Regions from separate parts of the Homo sapiens genome. Here all the other regions are linked to region 2. Evidence: promoter capture Hi-C in 16 types of primary human blood cells and fetal thymus (Javierre and others, 2016). All regions are on one chromosome and are shown on one strand. The core of a region is centred on a gene start or on the middle of the fragment in contact, and the rest is flanking DNA. Distances in the headings are between cores, read along the strand shown.

Evidence for each region. Contacts are between HindIII fragments. The CHiCAGO score rates a contact against its expected background, and 5 or more counts as called.
Region 1: a fragment that was not itself captured here is called in contact with the fragment with the promoter of GRID1 in region 2 in 7 of 17 cell types (non-activated CD4 T cells, naive CD8 T cells, naive CD4 T cells and 4 more); the score reaches 14.0 in non-activated CD4 T cells.
Region 3: a fragment that was not itself captured here is called in contact with the fragment with the promoter of GRID1 in region 2 in 11 of 17 cell types (naive B cells, activated CD4 T cells, M2 macrophages and 8 more); the score reaches 15.6 in naive B cells.
Region 4: a contact is called between a fragment that was not itself captured here and the fragment with the promoter of GRID1 in region 2, in 4 of 17 cell types (total B cells, naive CD4 T cells, naive B cells and 1 more). The highest score is 8.7, in total B cells.

Annotation. Positions count from the first base shown.
Region 1 is chr10:84,253,081-84,256,391 of GRCh38, reverse strand. It overlaps RGR (retinal G protein coupled receptor), which reads right to left. Exons shown (of 7, transcript NM_001012720.2): 5 at 1,949-2,066. Among named protein-coding and RNA genes, the nearest start is that of RGR, 9.7 kb to the right of the region's middle. The HindIII fragment of the contact is 272 bases long and covers 1,550-1,821 here.
Region 2 is chr10:86,365,415-86,368,901 of GRCh38, reverse strand. It overlaps GRID1 (glutamate ionotropic receptor delta type subunit 1), which reads left to right and starts at 2,107. Exons shown (of 16, transcript NM_017551.3): 1 at 2,107-2,588. The coding sequence starts at 2,510. RefSeq lists silencers at 1,409-1,618, 1,729-2,118, 2,139-2,188, 2,419-2,618, 2,649-2,798. The HindIII fragment of the contact is 11,562 bases long and covers 1-3,487 here.
Region 3 is chr10:84,272,271-84,275,447 of GRCh38, reverse strand. No RefSeq gene overlaps it. Among named protein-coding and RNA genes, the nearest start is that of LINC00858, 6.1 kb to the left of the region's middle. The HindIII fragment of the contact is 1,963 bases long and covers 934-2,896 here.
Region 4 is chr10:84,358,449-84,361,798 of GRCh38, reverse strand. All of the region lies in intron 1 of CCSER2 (coiled-coil serine rich protein 2), which reads right to left. Among named protein-coding and RNA genes, the nearest start is that of CCSER2, 32 kb to the right of the region's middle. The HindIII fragment of the contact is 1,576 bases long and covers 1,289-2,864 here.

The DNA.
Region 1 (3,311 bases), core at 436-2,935, 2.1 Mb after region 2:
TTTTTAGTCCGCGACACAGGGATAAGAAAACCTCCTTCTGGCCGGCACGATAGCTCAAACCTGTAATCCCAGCACTTTGGGAGGCTGAAGTGGGTGGATCACCTGAGGTCAGGAGTTCAAGACCAGCCTGGCCAACAGATACAAAAGATACAAAAATTAGCCAGGCGTGGTGGCAGGTGCCTATAATCCCAGCTACTAGGGACGCTGAGGCAGGAGAATCGCTTGAACCCGAGAGGCGGAGGTTGCAGTGAGCCGAGATTGCCACTGCACTCCAGCCTGGGCAACAGAGTAAGACCTTGTCTCAAAAAAAAAAAAAAAAAAAAAAAAAAAAAGAAAGGAAAAAAAAAAGAAACAAAGAAAAAAAAAAAAGGCTGGACACGGCAGCTCACGCCTATATCCCAACAATTTAGGAGGCGGAGGCGGGCGGATCACCTGAGATCAGGAGTTCGAAACCAGCCTGGCCAACATGGAGAAACCCCGTCTCTACCAAAAATACAAAATTAGGTGGGTGTGGTGGCACATGCCTATAATCCCAGGTACTCGGGAAGCTGAGGCAGGAGAATCGCTTGAACCCCAGAGGCGGAGGTTGCGGTGAGCCGACATCACACCATTGCGCTCCAGCCTGGGCAACAAGAGTGAAACTCGGCCTAAAAAAAAAAAAAAAAAAAAAAAAGAAAGAAAACCTCTTTCCTCATAGAGTGGTTGCAAAGAAATAATATTAAGATCTGAATTTGTTCTAATCTTTGTTGCTTGTTACGACTCCTTTGCTAGAGGTCATCCAGGTGACCAAGTTAAAATAAAACCGTGGCAAGGGAATAGTAATTCAGAAACTAAAAAATGGCCAGGAGGGCTTATTTTGAAGTATTGTATTTCTTGGACAAATGTGCTTATAGGTTGATTTTTATCTTTTGGGCACCACCCTGTGACTGTGATTAAATTAAACATCTCAAAGCGGTTTAAAAGTAGCATTTAAAAAGCCTGTAACTTTGTGCCAAACCTCACATCCTTGGCAAGAGTTAAGTGGAACAGCACGGATGTGTCCAGTAGGGAGCCCTGGTCCCCAGAGTTACGGGGTCTGGGTGAATCTGAGCAGTCCTGATCCTTGCTCCCCAGGCCTTGGCGATCTGAGCAAAGGGAGGGTGGTTTCCAGTTCTAACATCCTATGCTGTGCACAAGCTGGATTTTCTCTTGATCACTGAAAACGCAGAAAACCCCTGGTTGCTGTCTGTCACATTGTTCATATTCCCTGGTGTCCCTGAGAGGAAACGAGAAATTACTGCTGCTCTTGAGGCAGGAGAATAGCAGAGGGAATTGGAGGTTAAAGGGCGGAATGAGTAGAAGCAGAAGCAAGGTGAAGAGGCAGTGAGCAAGAAGCAAGACAAGAAACAGAAGTTGAGCAACCAAAACACAAATAAGATTAAAAAGTGAGTAAGAAGCTCCTGTGGCCAGCTAGGTCTGGACCAAACCTGTCAGGGGCAGCTCCTCAGAGATGCGCATGTGCATTAGAGAGAAAAAGTATCCTTAAAATGACCCCGTATGATAATAAGCTTATTAAAGCTGATGCATATGGACTGCATATCATGCATGTACTTAAGATTATGGGATGGAGGTGACAGGCAAGCACACAAGGGCCAAAGTAACATAAGCAACCCACCTATCAATCAAAAGGCAGATGCTGGCTAGAGATTAGGCAGCCTTGGGAAGAGAAGAAAAATAAACATATAAAAGAGCCCAAAATACACCAAACTGGTGCTGATCTCACTTCGCAGAGATTGGTCCACCCTCCCCTCTCTGAGAGTGTAATACTGTGCTGAATAAGCTTTTGCTGCAAAAGCAATGAATATTTGTTTTGCTGTTTGTGTGTGTCACATCCAATTCTTTGTTCGGGACACCAAGAGCCTGGAGCTGCGCTGCACCATCAGATAACACTCCGGAAGGGGGTCCTTACCTGGAGATGGCCACTCTTCCCCAGTTTCTGCTCCATGAGACTGTAGGAAGTGATCGTGATGAAGAGGGGCATGGCGAAGTTGAAGAAGGACATGGTGAAGAGGAAGCTGGTGAAGTTTCTACAGGGAGAGCGGGTGGAGGATTGGGGTTAGCTCTCAGGGATGGCCAGCTGCCCTCAAGGACCCACCAGCTCTGCCCTAGATGATCGGTTGTGGGGAAATGCCCCATTCAGACAAGCTCGCAGTGTGGTTGCTCCCGGGTCCCAGGTGAACTCCCTTTAGGAGCCAGGGAGCTACAAGGAGGAAGAGGCCTCTTTCTTGTTCAAGTGCTCAGCCCTGCTTTCCTGTTTGTCCCCCAAGCATGAAGAATGGGAAATTTTAGTTTGGGAAACATGTTCACCCAATGGTGGGGATGTCAGTGGGCCAAGAGAAAGGAACATTCAAGGAGCATTCTAGGCCCAAAGGTTTTAAAAGGAGACGGGATAACAAGAAGACTGGATACTGTGTCACTGAAGAAATGGTTGAAGGCACCACAGAAGAGCTTGGGTTCCCAGGTAGTGGTCATGGGGAGGTGAAGGGAATAGTGGGAGTCCCAGGGAGACAGATTCCCATTTTCTGAAGGGAAGACTATGTCACCTTGGAGCCGTCCACCAGGGAGGGGCAGCTGGAAGGACTGGACCCTGGCTGGGGAGTGCCATGGAGGGACACTTGGACCAGGCCCAGCGTTCTCAAGAATGCATCACCTGGAAAGCCTGTCATCCAGTGCAGATGCCTCATGATTAAACACCATGGGTAAAGCAGATGAATGCAACTTGGCTCTGGTGGAAGCAAGAGGGGCTGGAGCCCATGTGACCATTCCTCAAGGCAGTTCCTAAAGGATCCCCCTAAGCCCTTGTCTCCCTAGAGCCTCCTGATGGGGCAGTACCAGAACACGAGCCCCATGAGGGTGGGGACCCTCATGCATTCTGTCCTATTTCTCCAGGGATTGCCTCATAGCGTATGCTCAGGGCATTCCCTCCCAATGCAAGGACCTTAATGTTCTTTGAATCTATTGTACCAAGGGCGTGGCTCCCTCTAGAAATTGATGAGGTCAGAGCCATGATGGTCGACTGTGCTGAAGATGGCTAAGAGGTGGTGCGGCTTGGTGACTGTTACCACTGACACAAGCCAATGGCTCCCTGTATGATGTCTCTTTTTGGGTTCAACTCTGGGTCCCAATTTTCACAGCATTCCCATCACCTGGCCAGTTTTCAGAACAGGCTTTTTCCAGTCCCACTGTCCACCTGCAGGTGGGTATCATGATTAAGAAGTTGAGATTGTCTGGCAAACGTTGACATTTCCCCATTTGGATTTTCAGCTGGGGCA
Region 2 (3,487 bases), core at 858-3,357:
AACTTGATGGAAATCATTCCACAACTATGTGTTGGTGGGTTGTCTTCTTAATACTTGGAAGGAGGTCTTAATACTTATCCCACTGAAATCATGCTACCTACACCTAGCAAAACATACATCAAAGAAAAACTTCTAACTGGGTATATCACATGCCCACTGTACTAACACACTGGAGAACCCCCAACAACAGGAGGCCCGGGGAGAGTCCCTGACCCACAGGGACTTCAGGTCAAGACCACACCCACCATCCTTTCAAGGTGGAGACAGTCCCCGTAGGAACCAAACTGATGTATAATAAAACTCATCATTTATTTCTCTTCTCCCTACAGCATTTCAGCCAGTGAATGGTAGAATTTTGCAGGAATAAGAATTAGAGGTGTAGAGGGTTTTGAGATGCGGGGTGGGTCAGGTTTCACTACTCAAGGACCCTAAGACAGGTTTTTGGAAGAAGTGTGTGTGTGTGTGTGTGTGTGTGTGTGTGTGTGTGTAGGACCACATTCAGCCACTCCCATGGGCAAGTATGACATATGACCACTCCTCTCTTCTTGCCCCCTGGCCTCCTTAACCTAGAAGTCACCTTGCTGGCTCATGGGATTCCTTGATACTTCTGCAATCCAGCTTCTCCGCTCCAACAGGCTGTCCCTGCCCAGCTGAGCTGGCCCACCCAGGGTTCCCTCACAGTGCTATGGGCCTCCACTGGCCCCCTCTGCACAGCCCATCCTCTCCAATCTTTCTTTCCAAAGTGAAATCTACCAATGCTTACTCTTTGGCTCTGGCCACATGAGAGACAGACAGACATACAGACACACACTTCTTTCTTTTTGCCTTGGCTCACCACTATTCAATGCCTGGAAGCCTTATTTTCTCCCTTGGGAACCTCCACTCAGTCTTTACAACTGTCATCTCCTCCAGGAAGTCATCCCTGCTCTTCTTCCCAGGCTGGTTCAGAGCCCAGGCATCTGAGCATACACAGCTCATTCATAGCCCCCCCCAACATTTAAAAGATGACTTGGTTGGGTGTCTGCCTCGCCCACTGCGCTGGGAGCTCTGGGCAAGGGCTGTGGTGGGAGCCTCTCCCCCTGGTGCGTGGCGGGAGTCCTGGGGCCCCTCCGCGGACAACAGGGCCCGGGGACGTTCCCAGGCTTGCTGGAGGAGCAGCTTTTGAACGAGGCTCTGCCAGGTCCCAGACCCCAGGAAGCTCAGCTGTCTCCTCGAAATCTTGGGGGTGCCACATGGAGCCCAGTCCCTTTCAGGCACGAGCCCACAACAGCTTAACGCTCTCTTTGGTGGTGGCCGGCCCGAGGCAGGCACCGGAGGCGGAGGGAGCCCTGTTCCGCTGTGGCCGCGAGGAGCGGGCTCTTCGCCCGGGCTCGCACATGAAAGCTCCGTGCAGGGTCGGAGTCTGAGCCCGCCGGCCGCTTGGAAGGCTCCTCACGTCCAGGCGCCGCGGTCACGGCTGCGCTGGTTTCCGGCCATGAATTGGGCTTCAGAGTCCGAGCCTCTTGCCCGACTCCCGGCTGAGCGCGCTGCCCATGGAGCGGGGGATGGGCGCCCGCCGAGGTCCGCGCGGCCAGCCAGGGTTCGAGCCCACGGCCCGGGCTCTACTCTGAGATGCTTGCGGCGGCCGGCCCCCTCTGGCTCCCCAGCTGTCCTGGGGCCTGGCCCGGCGCCCCGCCCCGGTCTCTCTTCTTGCTCCCCAGGTCCCACTCCACGAGGAACGGTCTGTTTCGGCCGGGGACATGACCCGAGACGCGCGGCTGCTGAGGTCGCCAGGGCGCTTCGGGAGCCCCTCGAGGGCAGTTAGCGGCCGGCCCTCCTCCATTCTCCCGCCCCTGGCGAACCGGAGAAGGAGGCCCGAACCGTCAGAGCTCGGCGCGCCGCAGCCCAGGCCGGTCCCCGCCGCTGTGCCGGTCTCCGAGCGTCCCCCGAGCCGGGAGCGTGGAGCACCCGGCGCCCCCTCCGAGCCGCGAGCGGGCGAGAGCCGCGCGGCGAGGCTGAGGCTCCGCAGTCACGTGGTAGAGAGGCGGGCGGAGGGGAGGGAGGCGGGCAGGGAGGGGAGGGGGAGCGGAGCTGAGGGGGAGGGGGAGGGGAGGGGGCGTCCTCCGCAGTTCGCTCCTCGCCGGGGCTCAGACACACAGCCAGCCCAGAGCCGCCACGCCGGCCCGGCCGCCGCCGCCACCGCCTCAGCCTCCCCCGAAGCCGCTCTAGCCGCGGGAAGCGCCGCTGCCACAGCCGCGGGCCGCCCCCGCCGCGCCGGCCTGGGCTCAAGCTGCCAGCACCGCCGCAGCCGCCACCGGAGCCGGAGCGGGAGCCCGACCGCGCTGGGCTGGGCTGGGCTGGGCTGGGGCGGGCGCAGGGCGCAGGGGCGGGCGCGCGGGGGAAGACGCACGGGCGGGCTCGGCTCTCCCGGGGAGCGGCCCGGGACTGCACCGGGACCAGCGCCTCCCCGCTTCGCGCTGCCCTCGGCCTCGCCCCGGGCCCGGGTGGATGAGCCGCGCGCCCGGGGGACATGGAAGCGCTGACGCTGTGGCTTCTCCCCTGGATATGCCAGTGCGTGTCGGTGCGGGCCGACTCCATCATCCACATCGGTAAGCGCGGCTGGAGGCCGGGCCGAGGCTGGGCGGGGGCCCCAACGGGGCAGGGGGTGCGCGGCGTCCAAACTTGGCGTTTCCCTGGGCCGAGGGGCTCGGCGGGCGGTGCTCCCCCGAAGGGCCGCGCCGCGCCGCCCGGCGGAGGAGCTGTGCACCGGCCGCGCCGCGCTCCCGCTGGCTGCTTGCCGCTCCCCGGGGCTCCGATCTCCGCGCGGGGCCCCGCGGCCTCTACCGACACTTAGGGCCGACGCTTCGGGGAACACCGGGATGGACGCGCGTCGAGACCCGCGCCCTTAGCGGGGCCGTCGGCGGGTCGGGAGGGCCCTTCTGCGCAGCTCAGAGCAGCGGGGGGCAGGGGGAGGTACAGCGGGGGGCTCGCCAAGTTGGCAGGGCAAGATCAAAGAGGCCGGACCGGAACCGTGTGTGAATGTGTGTGGGTGCGTGTTGTCAGCGTGTGTCGCTGTGTGCGCCTGGCACGGTGTCGGTGTTACTGTGAGAGGGTGTTGGGGTGTGTGGGGCCATCTGAGCGTGTGTTGGTGCGTGCACGACTGTCTGTCAGCCTGTTAGAGTGGACACAGTGTCTGCCTGCTTCTCCGGTGTGTGTCTGTGTAGCCCTTGGTGTATGTGTGAGTGCGTGTGTATCTGGTTGTGGCGACTGCATCCCCATCCTGGACAGTCCTAGAGTTTTGCGTGGTCCAAGTCTTGGGGGCCCAGACGGTCTGGGTGGTGGGAGCCGAGGGAAGAAGCGTGGGCAGCGGGGGGTAGGGGGATGCTGAGCGGGAAGAGATGGATAGAGAGAGAGAACCGGGAGAGAAGATGAAAGCGCAGAGGAGGAGGGGGCGCGCCGAGGGGGAGTGGGCGCGCCGAGGGGGAGTGGGTGGGAGTTGGGAGCAACA
Region 3 (3,177 bases), core at 666-3,165, 2.1 Mb after region 2:
ATTACTGATTGTTGAGCATAAAAGTCTCAGTTCCCTACTTGGACTTACCTGACACCATCTCAAAAGGGGTCTTTGTTGCCTTTTTACAGCTCTGACAGAGTAGAAGTCTAGGCTCCCCATTCAACCTTTGCTGGGCTGGTGGGGATGGGGGCCATGGTCTTTTCCATGGAATTTTGCTGGAGTGGGACAGCTATGCCTAAAGGCTGCCCTTTTCCCATTTATTTGGCTAAACACATCAGGCCTTTATTGGGGCTGTATTTTTTTTTTTTTTTTTTGCTGCACTAATTATCTTGACTGAGCTACTGGCTTCTTCTTTAGTTTCAAATGTGGGATAAATGAGGCAAAAAGAAAACCCAGAGAACTCGCCACTGTGTCATTCTTCCATCTTGAGATCTCTAGGCAGCTTTTCCTTCTCTGCGTCTTTCAGTCGCCTGTGTTTGTTTTATACATAAAACGTCGAGGGTGTTTAGTGGCACTTAGCAGGAGGAATAGGGAAGGGTTCCTCTATTTCGTTTTCCTGGAAGCAGTTCTCTCATTGTGGTTTTAGTTTGCATTTCTCTAATGCCAAATGATGTTGAACATCTCTTCTTGTGCTTATGTGGCATCTGCAATTCTCTTCCGTGAAATTCAACTATTATCTTAAGCTCTTATTCTCTCAACCTTCTGACAATCTTATTTCCTGCTTTGTTAACAGCAGATTTTCATCTTCTCAAAGAAAATTGAAGTCATTGAACGGGAATTTCCTCAAATTTCTAACACCAATCCCACAAATAAATCAAAATTTGCCCCCTTCAGCCTTTCTCTCCTGCTGCCTGGGGTCCTACCCCCTTCCTCTTTTCAGAACCCTATGCCATTAATTATTGCTTATCTTTCCCATATATTCAATTACTTCTCAATCAACTTTTCCCAAGAAAATTTAAACCTGCTCAAGCTTCACTTTGTTAAACAAAAGCATACAGGACCTCCCCTCCCTTGTGTTTTTTTGTTTCTCTCTTCTATCTCAGTCAAAATTTCTCAAAACGAACACTTCATTTCTATGAAAAAAAATTTTTTTTAATAGAGGCAGTGTCTTACTATGTTGCTTAGGCTGGTCTCAAACTCCTGGCCTCCAATGACCCTCCCGCCTCAGCCCAAAGTGCTGGAATTGCAGGTGTGTGCCTCCATGACTGGCAAAACAAGCACTTATCTTTCCAGTCTGGCTTCTATTCTCTTCCCCTCACTGAAAGCTCTTGCTCAGGTCAATGAAGGCCACCAAGTCACCAAATCCAGTGGGCATTCATCCACCCTTACTTTACTTGACCATTCTTTTTTTCTTGAAATAACCTCTTCCTTATACTTTGGGAAACTCTCACTCCAGGCTTTCTTCCTGGTGCTCTGGATACTCATTCTGGTCCCTCTTGCAGACTCTTCCTCCCCACCAGGCTATTCAGTATAGTGGATTCCTCAAGGCTCAGTCAGGCTCTTTTCTCTCTTCCATTTAAAACCTCTTCCTGGGAAACCTGGCTTCAGTTACCAACTCCATAGCAAAGACTTGCACATCTATATCCCCACCCAGACTTCTCTGAGCTGCGAACTCTCATATTCAATCACCTTCTCTAAATCTCCACTTGGCTGTCACAAAGACACATCAACCATAACAATGCCAGACAGAACTCATGCCCTTTCCCCATAAGCCCAGTCACCTTCTGTTACTCTTTTCTCCATTTCCACTACCACCACTACTGTCCAAACCATCACCATCTTTCACCTGGTTGTCCATAAATAGCCTCAACTGGACTCCCTGCATCCCCTCCACCTGGATGGATGGATGGTTCTTTGTACCACAATGCCAAAATATAAATTGGATTATATCAGCTCCTGCTTAAACCCTTTTAATACCTCCAATTACACTGAGCATCTATCAAGCCCCAAATCCTTTTTTTTTTTCTGAGACAACCTCTCCCTCTATCACTCAGGCTGGAGCGCAGTGGCACAATAATAGCTTACTACGGCCTCGAACTCCTGGGCTTAAGCAATCCATCTGCCTTGGCCTCTTAAAGTGCTGAGGTTACAGGTGTGCACCACCATGCCCAGCTAATTTTTTAAATTTTTTATTTGTAGATACAGAGTCTTGCTGTGTTTCCCAAGCTAGTCTCGAACTCCTGGGCTCAAGGGATCTTCCTGCCTTGCCCTCCCAAAGTGCTGGGATTACAGGCTCAAGTCACTGCACCCGGTCAGCCCCAAATCCTCAACCTGGCCTGTAAGGGTTTCTGTGTTCTGGATCCTGTCTCTTGTCTAGTCTCATGTCATATCATTCCTTCCCTTTCATTTATCACTTAAGCTCCAATGGCCTTCAATCAGTGCCTTTACCTTCATCTCAAAAATACCCCAAAGGGTATGATTTTCTCAAACCTCAGCAATATGAAGGTCCAGAAATCCAGAGGGGAAGCCACCTCCTGTTCTAAATGTGAACATTCTCTGCTTCAGGACCTTGAGTTACGATTCCGTTCCTCCCAGCACTGCCCATTTCCAAATCTGTCCTTCATCCATCCGCCTGGAGGCTTCCACCACTGCCAGTGGATTGTTTCTGTCTTCTGTCTCCTATTCAGATCAATACACTCCTAATGGATCCTGGCATTGGGACATGACATCCTTACCAGCATTGCTTCTGTGGCTGTGTTATGCTGAAGCATAGTGCTTCGTCACCATGCTTCCATGCTACAAGTCACGGAATAATGCCCTTTACACCCTGACATTCAGTCTCTAGTAGCCCCCTTCCTTTACATCCCTATAAGCAACCTTTCCCACCCAGCTCCAAACTTGAACATGGGGAAAATATGAGAATTTTTTGCAAAAAGTCTGTTAGAAATTGATTTAAAAATGACAATTAAAAATGTATTTAGGTGTAGAAGAAGCTTCTACTGAAAAACAGGTGAACAGATGGGGCTGGGGGATTTTGTGATTATTACGTAAAGCCTGTATAGAGGAGAGGAAGGCACTGGGAAGGAGTATCAGGATGTGAAGTAGGACCTTTCTACTCTGCTGAGACATTAGTTTTGAAAATAATTGTGCATGTACTATGCTTCAGGGCCTTGAGAGTTAAGAAGGGGAGAACTTGTGTCACTTCCTCAGGGAAGCCTTTCTGGATCCCTCCTGCTACTTTTGAGTTTCATCTTTTCTGAGTTCCCATTGCACTTT
Region 4 (3,350 bases), core at 827-3,326, 2.0 Mb after region 2:
CATGGTGGTGCATGCCTGTAATCCCAGCTACTCGGGAGGCTGAGGCAGGAGAATCCAAAAATCCAAAACGCAGAGGTTGCAGTGAGGTGAGATTGCACCACTGCACTCTAGCCTGGACAACAAGAGCGAAACTCCATCTCAAAAAAAAAAAAGAAAAATGTTAGTGGTAGTTTCTACATAATAGAATACAACATGGTAATGAAGACCTAATTATTGCTATATGCAACAATACAGATAAAACTAACAGGATCCTTTAAACAAGAGAATCCAGAGACTTGAGGATAAATATAGTGTGATTCCATTTATATGAAGGTCAGATTTCCATTTTCGATGTAAAAAGCTGCAATTAATATCACTCCTACCTAAAAACCTGGAAGAGCCAGATAATCTTCAAAATCATAACCTTTCATAAGCCCATCAGAAAGCTGTTATTGTAAGGCAAGCAAGTCAACCAAATTCCAAAGGGAGACAAGCCCCTCCCAGGAGAGACGGGACATTTAACAGTTTCACTTTTGGCTGAGCATAAAAGACAGAAATGACCACCATAAAAAGGAGTAATAAGCTAACATTTTAATGTCTGCTTAAAAGCCAAATGTGGACTAGCACAACAGCAAGCTCTTCCTCATGGGCCTCAACCTAGCATTCAAGAGAAACATATAAGAAAGCCCCCTCTTAACGGCACAGGCATGCAGGAGGTGATGAAAGCCTGCACTGGAACAAACACAAACCCTCTCACTTCCCTGCCTCCTTCTGTCCTCTGAAGCAAAAGCCTTAAACTGCTGGGGAAGCAGCAGCAAGACTTCTCACCCAGGGGCACAGGAAAAAAATCCAGTGCATGTGGAGGAAACAGAATGGAATGGGAGAAATGTTCAGTTGATCCATTTATGTGAGAGTAAGGTCAAGAACTGATTAAAGTAATTATGATAATATGTGTTAGAATACAGCAGTGGTTCCACAGTGCTTGTGTGTATCAGAATCACCCGGAAGACTTCATTAAAACAAGATCTCTGGACTCCACTCCCAGAGTTTCTGAACCAACATATCAAAGGTAAGGCCTTAGGAAAAAGTATTTTTAACAAGTTTCCAGGTGATGTTGATTCTGCCGATCTGGAATTCATACGTTGGAAATCCCTGGGACAGAGACTAACTCTGCAAGAGCGGGCTAACTGAAAAGGGGTTGACTGAGACATTGGCAACTTGATCTGGATGGTGTAAAATTCACCAAGAGTACATCATTTAAGATTTATGTATTTTATTGTATGTAAGTTATACTTCATTTTTTAAAGCTTCTCTTAAAAAATTAAAAGCCTCAAACTGCTTCTACTCCTATAAATAGTAAAAATAAGCCTTACTGCAAAGACAACTTATTCTACAAATTGATAAAAGAAATAAGCATGTATCCTGCTCTTCTTGTATTTCAAAGTAACCAAAAAATTGATGGAAAATCTTCTTTATAGAAGAACCACAACTGATAAATACAGAAAAAAAGATAGAATCACAAAGTAAGAAAATCTGAAACACTCCATTAAATATCAAAACACCCCTCAAAAAAGGGAGTGTGACAGTTAAAACTGAAACTATTAAAAGGTAAGTGGTAAATAACACCAGGGATTAATTATGCTGTTTTCTCTACACATGATGTTTGAAAACATCCATATAAAACTTCCATTTAAAAAAGTAAACCCCAGCCAGGCACAGTGGCTCACACCTGTCATCCCAGCACTTTAGGTGGTTGAGACAGGTGATCACCTGAGGTCAGGAGTTCCAGACCAGCCTGGCCAAGATGGTGAAACCCCATCTCTACTAAAAATACAAAAATCAGCTGGGTGTGGTGGCAGGTGCCTATAATCCCAGCTACTTGGGAGGCTGAGATAGGAGAATCACTTGAACTCGGGAGGTGGAAGTTGCAGTGAGCTGACATTGCACGACTGCACTCCAGCCTGGACAACAGAGTGAGACTCTGTCTCAGAAAAAAAAAATAAAATAAAAATAAAAAAGTAAACCCCAAATAAGGATGCTTTCATCAGGGAAAGAGATAGGAAATAAATTTCAGCACATTCCACATTATCCTCCTTCTCTTAGCATTCATTTTCATTCTCTCTCAGGAGCACTTATATACCCCTATTCAGAGAACTCCCAAACCCTGGATCTCTACATTTAACTCCTCCTACAAAAGACAAAGGACTCTTGAATTAGCAAAATCATAAACTTCTAACTACCCTGACCAAGGCTGATCAGCAGTAGCATCAATAACACCTAGAAACTTGTTAAAAATAGATTTTCTAAGGCCTTACCTTAGATATAGTGCTCAGCAATTCTGTAGAGCCCAGAGATCTTGTTTTAATAAAGCCTTCCAGGTGATTCTGATACACACAAACACTGTGGAACCACTGCTCTATTTTAACCCCTATTATCGTAATTAGTTTAACCTGTTCTTGACCTGACCCTCACATAAATCAACTAAACATTTTTTACATTCCATTCTGTTTCCCCCAGATACAATGGACCCTTCAGAGTTGCAGGTGCACCAGGGGGAGATAAATGAAGTCCCCTCCCAATTCCACAACTGTATAAAATACTATTGATACAGTAATGCCTGAATTAACTCATCCTAGGGGAATTAAGTAATCCTTTGGACATAAAGCACTTTTTAAAAAGAAAAAAAAAAGTTGGGACAAAAAAGTGTATGTCCTGAAAATTAGATATTCCTGGTCTTGAGTCATTTCCAGTGGGAGAAGGTTACAGGAATCTTTCTGAAGAGCAAACTTCACTAAGCAAAGCAGGGTCCTAGGACCAGGAGACAGTAAATGCCTAGGTTCACAGGTCCCACATACAGAAACTCCTCTACTTTCAACTCATAAGCTTCTGTACATATGAACAAGGCAACCAATCAAAATGAAAGTTTCTCAGCAATGCCTGACACCAAAGGAAAATGTTAGCGATTATTTACAAAAAGAATTTATGAACAGCCTTTCAGAACTTAAAACTGTTTGTAAATAAATGAACTTCTGTACCTGAAAAGAGTGGAGATGGTGGAGGAGGGAATAGTTGAGGCAATCACATTACGTGTCTGTGTATAATTAATAAATATATATATACACGTGTGTGTGTGTATATATATATACATATATGTATATGTATATATATATACACATATATACATATATATATATTTAGATAGGGTCTCACTGTCACCCAAGCCAGCATGCAGTGGTGCTATCACAGCTCACTGCAGCCTCAACTCCTGAGCTCAGGTGATCTTCCCATCTCAGCCTCCCAACACATATATATTTGAATTTAGACAAAGTAAAATTACTTTCCAGAGCTAGAGGAACATTAATGGTATAGGT